Regions from separate parts of the Homo sapiens genome. Here region 1 is linked to region 2. The links are contacts of gene promoters, found by promoter capture Hi-C in blood cells and fetal thymus (Javierre and others, 2016). All regions are on one chromosome and are shown on one strand. Each heading gives the region's core, a stretch centred on a gene start or on the middle of the fragment in contact. The rest is flanking DNA. Distances are from core to core; before and after follow the strand shown. Region 1 has its middle 76 kb from the start of RUNX2-AS1. Region 2 holds the start of SUPT3H (SPT3 homolog, SAGA and STAGA complex component).

Evidence for each region. The method cuts DNA at HindIII sites, captures the fragments that hold promoters and counts their contacts. A CHiCAGO score of 5 or more calls a contact.
Region 1: a contact is called between a fragment that was not itself captured here and the fragment with the promoter of SUPT3H in region 2, in 2 of 17 cell types (endothelial precursors and neutrophils). The highest score is 5.3, in endothelial precursors.

The regions. Positions count from the first base shown.
Region 1 is chr6:45,649,854-45,655,409 of GRCh38, forward strand. No RefSeq gene overlaps it. Among named protein-coding and RNA genes, the nearest start is that of RUNX2-AS1, 76 kb to the left of the region's middle. The HindIII fragment of the contact is 5,632 bases long and covers 1,300-5,556 here.
Region 2 is chr6:45,376,360-45,381,929 of GRCh38, forward strand. SUPT3H (SPT3 homolog, SAGA and STAGA complex component) reads right to left here and starts at 1,575. Exons shown (of 11, transcript NM_003599.4): 1 at 1,409-1,575. The region is part of intron 2 of RUNX2 (RUNX family transcription factor 2); the gene reads left to right. RefSeq lists silencers at 1,217-1,496, 1,817-1,866 and an enhancer at 1,507-2,050. The HindIII fragment of the contact is 7,128 bases long and covers 1-1,996 here.

The DNA of each region.
Region 1 (5,556 bases), core at 2,866-5,365, 280 kb after region 2:
GTGAGTCTATGCTACATTCATAAAAGACGTTCATCTTCTTCGGCCCAAAGAGCTGAAGCTAGTGAACCTCAACGATGGTGATACCAACAATTCCTTGCTACAATCTAACAGTTTGCAAAGTGCTTCCCAGAATCTGCTCCCATTAACCCGGGTTGAGGCAAAGCTTCACAGATATTTAACAGTCTCATGGTAGCACTCCATTTGTTTTAACTCAAAGATCTATCGAAGGATGTCATTGATTTTTATTGAGCTTCTCCCCCAAACTCTTAGGGGTAATTCTAAACTATCACTAGCAGAAACTGATCATGGCTGGACTCCACTGGCCAGGATAGCCAGTTCTGGTAGTCAGAACTCGCACATGAAATTGTAATGAATCTACTTCGTTTGAGTATTTCAGATGGGTTGTCAACATCAATAAAATTGCATAGATAGTTCTACCTACCTGGCAGCCCAGTTCACCTGGGCCTCTCAGAGGGTGTGTTAGGGTCTCGGATCTTGTCATTGTGAATCTGGGCAATGCTTCTCCTTTCTTCTCCATTCCTCTCCTCATCACCCCCTCCTCCGGTTTTCTAAATGCCCAAAATATAAAGAGCAATGGAACCATACAAGAGAGCTTAATTTTGAAAGGAGGTGAGCTGCATAAACAGGGATCTTTGTGTAGTTCTGGAGAATATTAATAGTCTGATCAAGTTTGTTGTAAATATATTTCCCTTATCTCCTCTAACTTGGGGACTGTACAGAGGGAGAGTCAGGGAGAGGGAGGGGGCCTTCTGGATTTTTGCCCAGGGTTACTCAGCAGGGACATGGTTTTCCTAAAGTTCCAGAAGGGAGGGGAGGCCACTGCAAGCTCCACCATGTGTCCCAGTATATCATGTTGACTCATGACTAGATCTTGAGAAAAACTCACAGAAGTCAGGAAATTCCTGGCAAATGCTCTCATCTCACCCTCTGCTAACCTTGCAGGGAGAGCATAGGTAGGGTCAGATCGGAGGATGTTTTTAAAAGGAAAAATCAAAGCATGTCTGTAGCTTCTGCATGCCTGTAGTGGGACAAAGAGTCCTAACAGGCCTGGCTGAAGATGCAGAAGCAGCTTCAAGCCCCAGTGACCAGGGACAGCCAGCACTGGTATGTTTCTTCGTTCTAGATTTTTATTTCTGCAAAAGATTTTCCCCCTCTCCTTGGCGTTGTTTCCCCATGGGGAGTAGCATCTTTCTTTTTGAGCAAAGCCAAATGACCAAGGCACCACCCCCACCCCCTTCAATGGACAGGGCCAAATTTAGAGTTGGGGTTGCTCATTTAAGCTTTGTATGTAATTGAGCCTGGCACAAAGGGTTATCATTAGAAGGAATGGCATGAAATGAAGGAATGGAAAAGCTCAGACCCAAATTAGAAAAGATGTCCTGAGGGAGAGACACAGTGGCAAGGCTGGGAGCTCTGGTCTCAGAGGAATTCTTAGGAGAAAGGACTGGGCATTAAAAGTGCCTGGATGGGACAACTAGGGAACTGAATATGGCCCTGCCATCTCTTGGGATTATTTGCTTCTAAGTGCAAGGGCATGGTGGTAAGAGGTGGCAACAGACACCAGAGGCATCAATTGTTAAGAGCCAGCGTCTGCTCCCAGGGCACCATGGAATGCTGAAATAGGATTATCCTCTTACCAGATGTTTACCAAGTGTGTCCAGGGCTGGGCAGTGTTACTTTATTCCCCAAGCAAATGGAAGGTGCTAGAGGACTCAGCCAGTTCCGCTGACTTACTGAACATCCTTGTCGGAAACCTTGCTGCCTATTGCTTTGGGGAATGGAGCCATCACCTCCCTCCTCTCCAGATGGGGTGTCCTACTGCTTGGTTGCTCAGTGTGGGTTGGGGACTTGGCAAGGGAACACCATGGAACAAACCAAGGAGGCTTTTTCTCTGAGGTGCCTGTCCCGGCTGACACATCTGTCACCCTTGGCTCCCCCCGGAAGTCCTGGAGCTTGATGGTGTGAAGAGGGCCCAAGTGAACTCCATACGGCTGGGCGCAGCTTGCCCGTTCACCCTGCAGGATCAGTCCTCCTGCCTGCCTATCCTAGCTGTCCCCCCGTCCTCCTGGTTGACTCACGTGGGAGCTGGCAGCAGGGGGCTGCAGTCGTTCCCTCCGCTCCTCGCCAGACTGTCTCTGCTCCCCACATTAATGGTGGTGTCCTAGCTCCATGTGACCCCGGCTTCTAATATTCTTGGGTTAGTTCAGACTATACAGCTGGCCCAACTCTAGGCTTCCTAGCCTTGTTAAAGCCAAAATGCTGTCTTTTACTACCCTGCTCTTTCCATCAAGTTCTTCAAGCAACCCGAGTTTTAGAAGCTAGATGACTCTTTTGGTGAGCTCTTCCTCTGGGGGTAGGGAGCCTGGGTTTCAGTAGGGCCTGGACTGGGCTACATCATTGTTATTTTTTTTTAATGGTAGTTTTAGAAAAGAAGGTTCAAAGGTGAGTGACCCTCCAGGAGGAAGGATTAAGTGGGTTGACTTGGGAGCCATTCAACCCAGGAGGCATTGCTAAGGAACATAATCTATTTTGCATTTCGTTTCATGAGCCAAAGTCAGTTATGGCATAGGAATAGCTTTCTCATGCTGTCTCTCCCTTTCTCCATTCTACAAAAATATTCATGCCAAATAATATGCAAGTTGTATAAACATCCCTTCAAAAAGCACATAAAGATATTATATATAGTCACATATGTCTCCTTCCAAATGGGTGTGTTCCTAGAGATGCATAGAGATATCTTTCACACCCTATATGTAAAAAACAGCCAATTTAAGAATTGGCAGAACAGCCTTGCCTAAGTGAGTAGAAAACTTTGGCTCAGGGCTCTCCAAACAATCCCATAAAACCCATGCTTGCTTTTATTGAATGGTGATGCATGAAAGACCAAGGGTGGCCAACTTGAATGAGGGCAGGAGCCAGCGTTCACAGGATTGTCATAAAGGGTGGCAGGAAAGTTTCTTTTTGCTGAAATTCAATCTATTCCTAGAAAAAAAAAATTGCTTCCAATACTGGCTGGCTGGATGTCACTCTTATGTTCACTTCTGCTGCAACATCATTTGAGCTCATCAATGTTCAAGATGTTACTTTTACATTTGGTCTTCTCGCCTCCAGCCTCATCCCATCCATTTCAGCCTCCACTCCACTGGCTGCCAAAGTAATCTTTTTAAAAGGCAAATCAAATCTATTACTTTCCTACTTAAAACCCTTTGGTGGCTCCCCGTTGCCTGCTAAAGTTCAAATTCCTTAGCTTGGTAGACAAACTCCCTCAACCTTCTGTCCTCCGTTACCCTTTAAGCCATTCCATGAAGTCCCCCAGCCCCATGGACGCTCCACTCCAGCCATTTCAGACGGCCTTTGAGGCCACAGTCTTCCAAGCCTCATGCATTTGCACATGCAATTTCCTCCACTGGCATATTCCCTGGGGATATGAGTGGAACAGTGATAGCATCTGTGGTCAGAGCAAGGGGGACAGGAAGATGATGTGGTAGAGTGGAGGGTGGCACTTTTAACTAGGGTGGCCAGAAAAGCACACTTGAGAAGGTGACTTTGAGTGAAGGCTGACGGAGATGAGGGAGACAGCCTGCAGATATCTGAGGGAAGAGCATTTCAGGCAGCAGGAACAGCAAGTGTAAAGGCACTGAGGTGGGAATGTGCTTGGTGCCTTCAAGGAATAGTTGGAGTAGGGTGAGCAATAAAGGGATGAGGTGTCTGGAAGTTGGGTGAGGACCATGGAGCTCTTGACCCAAACACTTGCCAGTGTTGCCAGTGGGAATGAGTGACCTGAGCCAGAAGGTTGGCTGTGAAATGCTTGGAGGTTGCAACACTTTGCTTATAATGCAGATGAGTGTAAGAGTGGTTCTGAAAGTGTCAGGCTCTAGACTTTACTTTCTCCCAACCTGCATCCACACAGTCTCAACAAAGCCATTTTACTAGAATTTGACACCCTGATGACTAAAAAACCAGACATCTTTGAGGAGGCATTAATGTTTAGTTAGAGTCCAGGACTGGGTAAGTAATCCTCATCCTCAGGAGCCTCCGGGGTGCTTAACCCATACCTGATCTATCATGTTCTCCATAGCAATTTATTTTATCAGCTCTTCCCATTCCCATTTTATAAACATTTATGGTAATGCCATATATAGATCTTTCAAGTGCTTGGACAAAATTGTGAATTAAGGTGTCAAACTTCTCCTCCACCTTTTTATTGTGGTAAAGTATACACAACATGAAATTTACTATTTTAACCATTTTTAAGTACATAGTTCTGTGGCATTAAGTACATTCACACAGTTGGGCAACCATCACCAGAACTTCATCCTTCCCAACAGAAGCTCTGTATCCTTTAAGCACTAACTCCCCCTCATTTTGCTTTCTGTCTCTATCAATTTGACCACTCCAGGAACTTCATACAAAAGAAATCATACAATGTTTTGTGTACTGGCCTTTGTGACTGGCTTATTTCACTTGGCAGAGGTCTCCAAGTTTATCCATCTTGTAGCATATATCAAAATTTCCTTCCTTTTTAAAGCTGAACAATATTCCATTGTATGTTTGTGCCACATTTTGTTTATTCTTTCATTCATGGATAGGCACTTGGGTTGCTTCCACCTTTTGACTCTCGTGAATAATATTGTTATGAACATGGGTGTACAGGTATCTGCTCTCACTTCTTTCTCTTCCCTTCTTTAAAGGTAGTCTTTGAGCAGAAGCACCTCTTGGCTGCTTGAATCCATCTGGATGGCTGCCCTTCTCCCTTGTCTTGACTTGGCTTTATTATCAATTGATGATGAAGTCTGTTTCTGATGAGCTCAACCCTCAGCCACCAGAAAATTAGGCTCTGAATGATATATACAGAAATAAATGTGTGATGACTTTTCTAATGTCACTCCTTGGGAAATCACTAGCACTGCTAGAAACAGAGACTAGGGATTTCCCCAGGGCTGGGCCTTCTCATTCTCAGATGGTGGCCCCTTAGGGGTCAAAGCCACAGAAGATGGCCAGTATTCTGCCTGGGAGAGTCAGTGGGCACCTCCCAGCCAGGGCTCCTGGACATCTCTTCGGAGATCCTGGTCCATTGGCTGCAGCAGAGCCTGGATGAAGCCAAGGCCGTGGTTTCAGCTGCCCCTGGGCCAACCCTCCTGACTCAGTGGCTATAGACTGCATTGCTACTCTCAGGCAGCTGACCTAAACAGCACTTGGACTTGAACAAACAAAATGAAAATTGTAAAAGAAATTTATAATAGAAAAAAATCACATGTTTTCAAAATAGAGGATGCCCAAATATGAGAGAGAATGGAATGAACTGAACAAACATGGGTGTTGGAATCAGCCAGATATAGATCAAGACATGGGTCTTATCAGCCATGGGGTTTGTGCAAGCCATCCAAATTCTGTGAGCCTCAGCTTCCCCATTTACAAATGGATATAGGGTCATTAAATGAAAAAAAAATAAAAAACATGAAACTTGCTTTTATTGAGCAGACCTTATTGCATATTAGAATCACCTGGAGAACTTTTAAAACCTAGGATGTCTGG
Region 2 (5,570 bases), core at 325-2,824:
AATTGTAGCCCTGTGCTGTCCAATGCAGTAGCTACCACTAGCCACATGTGGGTATTTAAACGTAAATCAATTTATTAATTTATGAATAAAATTAAAAATTAAGTTCCTCAGTGACACTTATCACATTTCAAGTGCTGAAGAGCCACTGTGCCTAGGCTACCACTAGTGCCTAAAGGCACAGATTATGGAACATCTCCATCAAGGCAGAAACTGCTAGTGAAAAGTGCAGCCCTAGACTTAGGCATACTTCGCTCCAACGTCCCGAATATCCTGAGATAAGAAACTTTCCATAGCACAATGAAGAGCATTCCATTCTTGCAAAGTACTCTCACGAACTGTTTCTCATAGGCAAATTCAGCCTCTTTGAAACATTCACCAGAAATTCCCCAAGTTTTGTCCTTCAAGTAAATCTTTGCAGGGCGAATTTAATTCCTCTTCCAGAGTCTGCCCTTCACATATACTAAGACCCCAGGTCCTCTCCTTCCAAATACATACATACATATATACACATACATATACTTATATACACACATATGTATATACATATATATACACACACATTTCTTTCTACCGAAATAACTTAACATTTCTATTAGCCTCTTGGAGAAATGCTAATTTATCCACGTGTACAGTAATACTACGTCCAGGATCGTCTGAGTGTCAAATATTACATATCACTGTCTTCATAACTTCACTCTCACGTGTGAGACCAAGTGTCCTGATTCTCTGAGAAAATAAGGTCACAGTCATTCTGAACTCCTAAAACGTGGAGAGCAAAAGCAGAGCTAATATGTACTGAGCAGCACCTGGCGCTGTTCTAAGCGTTTAACGTGTATTTTCTCATATAATCCTCACAATTCTGAAATAGGCTATAAGATCGCCATTTTACAGACCAAAACAAGGCAAAGACAAGCTAAATAATTTCCCCAGGGGTCACAGACGTGAGCTCACCCCACAGAGAACACAGCGGATCTTTTCCTCTTTCTGGATGCTACACTCCCACTAACTACCTAACTCTTCTCTCGCCGTGCCATAAAGCAACAATTTCCCTCTTTAATGATTCCTCCGGCAGCCCCCACACTACCTAGACGACCCGCGCACCCCGCTTCTCAGCACAGCCCAGCCCCCCTCACCCCACGCCCACCCGCCAAAAGGGAGGAGTCGAGAGGCAACTCCACGCTCGGCAGCGGAACCAGGGCGCTGCGCCCGGCCAGCGCCTCCCACAGCCGCCCTCCCTTCAACACTCCGGCGTAGACCACGAAGACCCAGGCAGCCGCCCTCGAGCCGGGGCCAGGGCGTGGCCGGCGCGGGGGCCCAGCGACGCTGGGATCTCCGCTCTGCGTCCCTCCCGGCTCTCTGACGTCTCCCCCGCCCGAATCCCCGCACCGCCCCCCGCAAGCCCTACAACCTCTGCTTTAAGAACCCTTGGAGGCACTGCTGCGCTTCCCGCGAGGAGAATGTGGGGGTGGAGATGGTGCGGTTTCTGCTGCTGCGGCCCGGGACACGCTTGGAAAGGGGCGGGGTGGGGGACTGAGAGTGTGGAGTGTAGAAAGGGAAAAGGTGACTCGGCTGTGTGACGGGGCGATGGGGGGGGTACAAGATGGCGTGAGCCCGACTCTCGGTGGGGCGGGGGTTGCGGAGACTGAGGAGTAAGCGATACGGACGCCCCCCGCACTGGCAGTGCGGGCGCATGCGCGCTTGGCCAGGTGGCGCGCGCTCTCCCAGCCCGAGCGAGCTACTTCCGCCACGCTCGCCGGGGGCGGGGCGTTGTGCGCGGCCTTCAGGGCCCGGCTTGGGCAGCGCTGAGCCACGCGGCGGCGTTTAGAGCTGGGGACGCTGGGAGCGGAGTGGGGACGAGCTGAGATCGGTCAGGGTGTACAGGGTGCAGGCTTGAATTCTTTAGGAATTGGGCCCGAGAGGGCTAGGATTTTTGAAGGATTGGGTGACCGGCACTGGAAGTTGATTTTCAACTCCGAGGAAGAGATTCACCGTTCTAAGCTTCTTTCCAGGAATTGGAGTGAACGGGATCTTAATGGGATTGCGCGTTTACAATGGTGAAGGGAAACGGAGGGGTCTGAACGCTCCCCGCAGGGCCGCAGTACAGGCGTGTGGATGTGGAACCCTTTCTGGGACGGCGAAACCAGCTCTTACGCCGCTTCCGCGCGCCATCACTCCCTACCCTGACCTCGCACAGAATCTGTTTCATTAATCTGCTATTAATGTTTTTTCCCCAACTCATGTTACTAGACGCAGGCGTTTAACTACCATGTTTTGTTATTGAAAACTTTTTCTACTTGAAGGCTTTTTTTTTTTTTTGGACGATTCTGTGTTTAGATTTTGGCCTGTTCCTCATTTTAAAATCTTGCACCCCCAGTATTGTACTGTACATTCTGTCCTGCCACATTTAATTGATATAGATGTAGTTCTTTAAATAATACAGTAGTCGTAAGACAATGCTTTCAGTCTTTCACTCTTTATATTATATGAAGTCTTATTTATATTTAACATTCTTATTGCCTGCTTAGAGAAGAAAACTGGTTATCCATGCTCACCTTCACACCTGTGTTGTCAAATACTATAAAATACTGTATTTTATAGGGATTCAAGTATTAACCCTCACCAAGTCTTTTTAAGCATCACTGCTTCAGTTATTTTCTTGCCTATAGATACTGTGAGTTCTGAAATCCCTTCCTTCTATTTGCTTAAATTGTTTAAAATAGCAACTTATTTGGTTATTTCCTCTGTGGATTGTAGTTGAGTCTGCTAGTGTTGTGTTTGATTCTCTTTAATCTCCCCAACGCTTCAATATTTGCCAAATACCTAAAATTCCAAAAGAATAGATATATTTAGGATGTGAGAGCTCAGCTTGATGTGTAAATCAGGGATCAATTCATTGCTGAGCAAAGTGTGCAGTATAAGGGAAAGTAACAGAGTGAGTATGGTGATAACTTCTTACATGGGAAGACTGGTTGAAAGCTCTTTTGAGTACATTACCAAGAAATTAGTTAACAGAAGATTAAGAGAAAAATTAATGTTCACATCTAAAGAAACATAAAAGTAGATCATTTCAATTAAAATTATGTTCAGTTAATGTTATCATAGAAGTTCCTGCACTGGAGTTTCACCTGCATCAGATGAGTACCTGTTTGATCCAGTTTATCAGGATAGAATCCAGATCATCTTATTCTAGGATACTGGTGTCCAGCCTGCATAAAATCACACACAGGCCAGGCGCGGTGGCTCACGCCTGTAATCCCAGCACTTTGGGAGGCCGAGACGGGCAGATCACAAGGTCAGGAGATCGAAACCATCCTGGCCAACATGATGAAACCCCGTCTCTACTAAAAATACAAAAAAGTATCCGGGCGTGGTGGCACGTGCCTGTAGTCCCAGCTACTCGGGAGGCTGAGGCAGGAGAATCGCTTGAACCTGGGAGGCGGAGGTTGCAGGGAGCCGAGATCACGCCGCTGCTCTCCAGCCTGGCAACAGAACTAGACTCCGTCAAAAAAAGAAAAAAAAAAATCACGCACAACAAAAGTTAATGAGAGTGACACATGGAGAAGGGAAACTGAGTTAAGGCATTGATACAGGAAGTTTAAAAATTTATTCTTAGGAAACTGAATTGGGCTGTTGGCAGAGATCTGATTTTTAAAGTCACATGAGTTAACCAGGTTCCTACCTCCTGGAATTTCTTAAAATCCATTTTTGAAAATCTGATTTAGCCATAATTTTGCTCATAGTTTGAGACCATTGCTATATACAAAGGGCCAAAAATATTTTTGCATTACATTCATATCAAATATCCTAAACTATCAATGGTACTAGGGTATCTTAATTATAACAAAGCTAAAACAGCGAAGCTGTTGCTGAAGTTAAGGCTTTGATGACTACCACCTCTCAGAAAAACAAGTGATTTTCCAAGGCATGTGGGGAAAACACATCAGGAGACCAAGTTAATTTATCACTCCACAAAAATGTCTCCATGACCTGGACAAAATTGTTAAAGAAAAATGAAGCATTGTTAGCGTAGACTTTAACGTTCCTCTGGCATGTAATATTCACGTAGACTCACTAGTGCAAAGAGAAAGTGCATGTATCTAAGTAAAAGTGCCCATGGGCATCTTAAAATGATTAGGTAGTAAGCCCACATTCTCAAAAGAGCAGCAGAAGTCATGGCTAATATGGAACCATCTCTCTGATTCCATGGAAGTGGTTTCTTTTTATTATTATTTTTTGAGACAGAGTCTCGCTCTGTCACCCAGGCTGGAGTGCAGTGGCCCGATCTCGGCTCACTGCAACTTCCTCTTCCCCAATTCAAGCGATTCTTCTGCCTCAGCCTCCTGAGTAGCTGGGATTACAGGCGTGTGCCACCACGCCCGGGTAATTTTTGTATTTTTAATAGAGACGGGGTTTCACCATGTTGGTCAGGCTGGTCTCAAACTCCTGACCTTGTGATCTGCCTGCCTCGGCCTCCCAAAGTGCTGGGATTACAGGTGTCAGCCACCGCACCCGGCCAGAAGTGGTTTCTTCTCATGTGGATGCTACAGTGACAGTTCAGGTGACTTGGAAATTCTTTGTTGTTTGAGATTCATAACTCTTACTTGCTAGGATGTTTGTGGGGACTTTTTATTTTCTATTTATCAATTATTTCATCCTTTGCTATATTTGCCTTCTATTTTTAATGCTTAAGTTGTCACCATGGAAATAAACTGGGTAGATTGCATATTGTTTAGAACCGTATATTGCAATTGTTGCTATATTTGTTTTCTGACGTTGAGAACTGTTTTCCAATTGCATTCTCAAAAGTATCTTGTTTTATGTTTAGAGCAAGTTGTTCTGACCAAAAAGATTACTCAGCCCGGTAGTACCTGAGCAAGTCACTTAACATCATTGCACCCCAGTTTTTGTATCTGTGGAATGAGATGATAGAACCAAATGAACTAAAACCTTACAGCCCTAAAATTCTATGTTCCTTCAAAATGGGAATAGCCAAAGGATGGATACTAAAGTTGTGCAGAATAATTTCAGCATTTGTGCTACAAAAATTACAAAAGTATTCAGGGCTTTTCTTTTTTTTTTCTTTTGAGACAGGGTTTCCCTCTCTGTTGCCCAGGCTGGAGTGAAGTCATGCAGTCATAGCTTACTGTAGCATCAACCTTCTGGGCTCAAGCAATCCTTCCACCTCAGCCTCCTCAGTAGCTGGGACTACAGGCATGTGCCACTACACTCAGCTAATTTTTAAATTTTGTGTATAGATGGGGATCTCCCTAGGTTGCCCAGGCTGGTCTCAAACTCCTAGGCTTAAGAGATCCTCCTGCCTCAGCCTCCCAAAGTGCTGGGATTACAGGAGTGAGCTGCCATGCCCTGCCTGATGTTACACATTTCAAAAGAAAAACCAGCGTGAAAAGATGTATCAAATATGCTGATGCACTGCAGGGGGTTGGGGTGCCACAAAATTATTAAGGTGTAATCAAATTGGCTTCCCCTACCTTCCAATTGCATTCATAAGGAAAAGCAGTACAATGATTAGAAAAGAAATGTTAAAAAATTTTACAGTACCAGGTAGCTTG